Regions from separate parts of the Homo sapiens genome. Here region 1 is linked to region 2. The links are contacts of gene promoters, found by promoter capture Hi-C in human tissues and cell types (Jung and others, 2019). All regions are on one chromosome and are shown on one strand. The core of a region is centred on a gene start or on the middle of the fragment in contact, and the rest is flanking DNA. Distances in the headings are between cores, read along the strand shown.

Region 1 (3,123 bases), core at 195-2,694, 230 kb before region 2:
CTGGTAAGAAGTCTGGCTTTCTTCTACCTGTGGTACAAAGCCATGGTGATAAAAGAGCATTTCACTGGGATTTGAGCCTGTATGCTCACTCACCATGGGGGTGAGACTCCAGCAGTCAGGGCTCCCCAAGGAGGAAGCAGAGCAGCTGACGGTGAACTTGTGCCCAGCTCTGTCTGGGCTCAGCGGACTTGAGACTCAGCACTCAGCCAGACTGAGCTCCCCATAACCGGCCAATTGGAAACTGACAAGCGAAGGACTGGTTAAAACCAACCAACCACATTTCCTTGTAAAACTCCCTGGCTTTTGCTTTGTTGAGTCCCTGTGGCTTGTTCAGAGAGATGGTCTTTGAGCCTTTGCAGGGGCTGCAGTCCCTCATGTATACCCATCCGTGTGAGTAAATCTCCTCTGCTTCAAGCTCAGGGTATTGGGTTATTCTTTGCACCTCAACAGTCACGGCGCCTGAGTCTTTCTCTTGTACACAATGATCAAGGGGCAGAGCCCCTTAGCAGTGTTTGGCTCATTATTCTGGATGGGGCTGAGGTCCTGGGATAATAGAGAGCAAGAAGCCTGGGAGGCCAGAGGCTCCCAGGTGAGGCTTTTTGTTGGTTTTTGTTTGTTTGTTTGTTTGTTTGTTTGTTTTTGTAGGAGATACCTCAGAGAATAAAAGGAGTGCACTCAGTAGCACTGTAACCAAACCAAAGCTTCAGTCACTCACCACTTGTACAGTCCAATTAACAAGAGCTACAGGAGTTTGAGACTAGCCAGTGCAACATGGCGAGACCCCTGTCTCTACTAAAAATACAAAAAATTAGCAGGGTGTGGTGGTGTGCACCTGTGGTCCCAGCTATTTGGGAGGCTGAGGTGGAAGGATCACTTAAGCCCTTGGGGGAGAGGGGGCAGAGGTTGCAGTGAGCCAAGATGGCGCCACTGCACTCCAGCCTGGGTGACAAGAGTGAGACCTTGTCTCAAAAAACAAATAAACAAACACACAAACCAAAAAACGAGTGAGGGCTGACATGAAAAAAGTGACTTTTTATTCTAAAGCTTAGCTTAGGGGGAAAAGTACAGGCTTCTGCTTTTAAGGGCACTGCTTTGCTTTTGGGGCAGAAAGCAGGGACTTTTAAAGGGGGGACTTTGCATGCACAGCAGGTGGGGAGGGAGTGAGTAGGTGGGGGACCACTGGACTCACTTCAGTGCCTTATCCACCAGGTGGTCCAGCTGGCACAAAACTAGGTTCTAAGGTGGTCGTTGTCTTGAGACGCTCTCCAGGTGGGAAAGACTTCCGTCGTGGGCGTACTTGAGGTTGGAAATTGACAGTTGTTTCTTGAGGCAATCTCCTGCTGGGAGAGCTTTCTGGCTCTGGAGCTTCTAAGTGAGCACAGAGTCAGATAAGCTTGTCCTATAGGGAGTGTCTGGTGAAGGGAAGGTCAAGGTTATAAGGTTATAATTGCATTTCTAAAGCGCTAAGTAGGAAGTGAGGAACATGAGAAAAGAAGGAGAGAGAAAAGAAAAAAAATAATTAAAACCATTTTCTTTCTCTTAGAAAAATGGGATACTCAGTTACAGCATCATTGCATTAAAGGGACATTGAGTTTTGCAGGTGGGGGAAGTGAAATGGCTTAGAAAGAACATTGGCGGGGGACACAAGGTTCCTGACTCATGTGTTTTTTGCTTTTTTTCTGTTTTGTTTTGAGACGGAGTCTCACTCTGTCAGCCAGGCTGGAGTGCAGTGGCACAATCTTGGCTCACTGTAACCTCTGCCTCCTGGGTTCAAATGATTCCCCTGCCTCAGCCTCCGGAGTAGCTGGGATTACAGGCAGGTGCCACCATGCCTGGCTAAGTTTTGTATTTTTAGTAGAGATGGGGTTTCACCATGTTGGCCATCCTGGTCTCGAACTCCTGACCTGAGGTGATCTGTTCACCTTGGCCTCCCAAAGTACTGGGATTACAGGTGTGAGCCACCGTGCTGGCCTCCTGACTCTATTTTGAAACCATGATCTTCTGGGCTTGTGGAAGGAAAATCAGCCTCCCCTTGAGAGGGTTGGAACCTGGTAGGTTCTCAGAGGGCAGCTGGCATGGGTAAGGTGGGAAGGTTAAGGGTCTGTTCCGTGATGATCCTGGGATATGAGGGTTCAGGCTGCTGATCTGAGTGCAGAAAAAGGCGTGGGAATTGGAAGGTGGGGGTGGAGACAAGGTCAGATGAGGCAGCAGGGTCTGGGGCGGCCTGAGATGTGGGGTTGGGGGACAACAAGTGCCTGGGAGGACTGGGCCTTCAGGCAGATGAGGGAGGCAGGGAGGTAAGCACAACAGGACCTCTCCTCGGAGCCTCTAGGCAGTGAGCCGGCAGTTTATTTCGACAGTATTTGCTTTTGACACTTTTTGAAAACAATTAATTGCTGCATTAATTACAAACTGATTTATCTTATTCAAGTAGTCAATTTTAATAACATCACAACAGTCTTACCTTCCTATCCTGCCAACCAGTCACAGTGATTTCTTGTTTTGTCAGCACAAATGCTATTGAAACTCTGAATTTTAGTGGTAGCTTTGGGTTCTGTTCTCTGTTCCTGAGGGAAGAGAAGCCATCGACAGAGGAAAATTCCCACACTCAGCCTGAAACCTCTTCTATCTGCTAATTGGAGGTTCCTCTTACTGAGCTGGGGCCATGGAGCCTCAGCCCAGCCCCTTGTGGGTGCCTTTTGCAGCAAGCTGAGTCCTAGTTGTTACCCTTGCTCCTTCCTTTGGGAATGGACTCACTTAGGCCTCCTGGGAGGCTGTTCTCAGGGGGCTCTAAGCAGCCTCGGTTACTAAAGTACACTTGCACAGGTGATGTATTGCACCACCTGATGGTTGGAAATGAAGAGAAATGTATAACCACGGCTCTAAAGGGTGACTCGTTTGGGGAGTGGGAGGACACGGTCCAATGGGAAGTTGGGAGACTGTCTAACACCCAGCCAAGGGGGGCATCACCTGTTCCCGGGAGTGTCAGGGTCCTGGCTTATGTGTGTCCCTCTCTGGGAAAGAGGTGGTGGTGACGCTGTGATGAGAGCTGTCTCCACTCGACAGCCCTTCCAGGGGTTTCATGCATCCTGACTTGTTTAGAAAGCTCTGTGGTGAAATAAG
Region 2 (3,069 bases), core at 1-2,500:
CACAGAACATTCCACAGCGATCGGCTTCTGTGCAAAGCAGAATATGGTGTTGGGAGGAGTAGAATCACAGGATTTGAGGGCTGAGGCGGGAGACAAATTCAGGGGTACCTCCCATTTATAGAGTGTTTCGTAGTTTCTAGATCACAGCCACAGGAGGCAGCGCAGCTACTTTCCCGTTTTACTTTAGGATGTATGTGGCCTAGGAGAGGCTGGCCTTGGGTCTTAAAAGCTGTACTGCCTCCTGGTTCCTATTACTGTAACTAGGGATTTCTGTGATCCCTGGGGTGGTGGTCCAGGCCTTTGATGGACCCGTGGTGACCCATGTGACTCTGACCCACATGGCCTCCACCTCCCCATCCCCTAGTTTGGGTCATGGGCTTCACAGGCCACGTCGCTGAGGACACTGTAAGATTGCACTTAGGGCCAGGTGCGGTGGCTCACACCTGTAATCTCAGCACTTTGGGAGGCCGAGGTGGGCAGATCACCTGAGGTCAGGAGTTCGAGACCAGCCTGGCTAATATGGTGAAACCCTGTCTCTACTAAAAATACAAAAATTAGGCCGGTGTGGTGGCGGGCACCTGTGATCCCAGCTATTCAGGAGGCTGAGGCACAAGAATTGCTTGAACCCGGTGAACCTAGGAGGCGGAGGTTGCAGTGAGTCAAGATCACACCACTGCACTCCAGCCTGGGCGATAGAGTGAGACTCCATCTCAGAGAAAAAAAAAAAGCAAAACAAAACAAACAAATCCCAAACATTTCCACTCTGGATGCCAGCTTGAAGGCTCTTGGTCTTGTCCTTGACTTTTAGGCAGTCCTTAGCTCCCAGAGAGAGCAGCATTAAAAATCATCATCAGCAAAGTACTTCATTAGGCATAGCTTTTAATAATGCGGAATGCTCAATTTTTATTGAAATATGTTTGTCAAAACACAGATAGAAAATGCTAGAAATAGAGCACCCCAGAATGCCAGAGCTGGGAGGCATCTGAGAAGCTTCTAGTCTAATCTTCTCCTTTGACAGATGAAGCCTGAAGATTTGGGGGTTGGTTCTCACTGAGGCTGTGCCCTGGGTTGCCCCAGGTGCTGTGAGGAACAGGAATGGAGGCACATGGCACCCACACTGGTCTCTGAGATGCCATCACTCACAGCTTCTCCCCATCAGCCAGGGCCTTGGACACAGCCCGAGCCTGAGTTGAAACCTGGCCCTGGAACAGGAAGTGCTTGGAAGCTTCCCTGCCGTTGCCGTGGTGCTCACAACCACCCAGGAAACCAAGGCAAGCTCCCCCTGTCAAAGCACCTTGGCCCATAAGAAGAAAAGGGGGAGCCCCAGATGTGATGAGCGCTTCCAGGCTTCAGGCTCAGAAGGCGCCCCCAGCTCTCCTGTAACTCAGAGGCCAGTGTGATGGGAGTTCCTCCACTCAGCACACTTCCCCTGTAAACACGCCTGTGGTGGGCAAAAGGGCTTTGGAACGGTAAGTACAATGGGTATTTTTCAGCCACTTCAGAGACCAAGAAATGTGTCCTAGTGACAGGTGCTGTCTTAGCACCTGTCTAGACCCAGTGTTAGACTTGGGTGCCTCTGGTCTACTTGGCAGGGAGGGAGTTTAGGGAATCAGGAGGGGTCTGGGAGCTGAGAGACCATTGTAGGTAGCTCCTGCCCGCCCACAGGGACCTTGGCACAGGCTCTCAAAACACACGAAGGGGCAGATTGCCTGGTGGGATGAAAAAAGAACACATTTCCAGGCCATTGAGATGTCTCTGGATTTCAAGATCAGCTAAAAAAGTTCTTAGATATTGATCTAAGAAAGCAGGAGCTTTGGGTAGCTGAGTGCAAACCCCAGCCTCCCTCTCTCTGTAACTGAAGCGGTGCTCTGTGGGCATAGCGAGTCCCGTGTGGGGTTTATTCTGTGCTGACCAGGTCTGCTTTAGAATGGAACCCTCTTCTCTCTTCTCAGATTCCTTAAGGCCACGTTGAGGATTTGGGGGTCTATGTCTAGGGCAGTGGGAAGCTGGTGAAGGGCTTTAAGCTGAGGAGTTCATCATCCTGGCTCCTGTGAGGTAAAGGGATCAGAAAAGCATGTATGTGTTACCTGAGGTGGGAGAAGCCTCACGCAAGGTGGAAACTCAGCCATCAAGGAAAACACACATTGCTGTAAACTCAAGTGCACCTCTGAAAGCTGGTTGAACAGCCAAAGATGCTCTTAACACACATGCATACATGGATGCAATTGCAGATGAAGACACCAGCAGCTGGGTACAAACACCAGGGCCATGTTTGTACCCAGACACGTTTCTTTTTCTTTTTTCTTTCCCCTCGAGACAGAGTTTCGCTCTTGTTTCCCAGGCTGGAGTGCAATGGTGAGAGTTTGGCTCACTGCAACCTCCACCTCCAGAGTTCAAGTGACTGTCCTGCCTCAGCCTCCCAAGTAGCTGGGATTACAGGCATGCGCCACCACACCCAGCTAATTTTGTATTTTTAGTAGAGACAAGGTTTCATCATATTGGTTAGGCTGGTCTTGAACTCCTGACCTCAGGTGATCCACCTGCCTTGGCCTCCCAAAGTGCTGGGATTACAGGCATGAGCCACTGGGCCTGGCCCCAGATATGTTTTCAAATTAGAGACTGGCAAAGGAAATACACACACACACACACACACACACACACAGGACATATTTTCATACTAATGAAACAATTTGTTTACCATAAACAAAGTCAAAAGACAAATGATACACTTCTGCAGCATGTATGGCAGACAAAATGTTAGTGTCCCCAGTACATAGAGGGCTCCTTAAAAAATGCTAGTGAGACTACAGTAACCCAGTAGAAAATTGCGGAAAACCTATGATTAGGCAGTTTTCAGAAAAGAAAAATTAAACAGCCAATAAATAGATAAAAGAATGCTCAACCCCACTGGTAGCCAGGAAAGTTCAAATTAAAGTAAGAATCTGAAACCATCTGACACTCACCAGCTTGGCAAAAATAAATACGATGATACTACCTAGTACTAAAGATGTTGTGAAAAAAATGACAACACTTATAAATTGGTGATAGGAATGTTAATTGCTGCAATTT

What was found. The method cuts DNA at HindIII sites, captures the fragments that hold promoters and counts their contacts. A contact is called where the count stands out against the background at its distance.
Region 1: a contact is called between a fragment that was not itself captured here and the fragment with the promoter of BTBD16 in region 2, in 2 of the 25 tissues and cell types used here (IMR-90 fibroblasts and adrenal gland).

The regions. Positions count from the first base shown.
Region 1 is chr10:122,037,303-122,040,425 of GRCh38, forward strand. All of the region lies in intron 2 of TACC2 (transforming acidic coiled-coil containing protein 2), which reads left to right. Among named protein-coding and RNA genes, the nearest start is that of TACC2, 50 kb to the left of the region's middle. The HindIII fragment of the contact is 3,981 bases long and covers 1-3,123 here.
Region 2 is chr10:122,270,046-122,273,114 of GRCh38, forward strand. BTBD16 (BTB domain containing 16) reads left to right here and starts at 1,251. Exons shown (of 16, transcript NM_144587.5): 1 at 1,251-1,469. The HindIII fragment of the contact is 10,681 bases long and covers 1-3,069 here.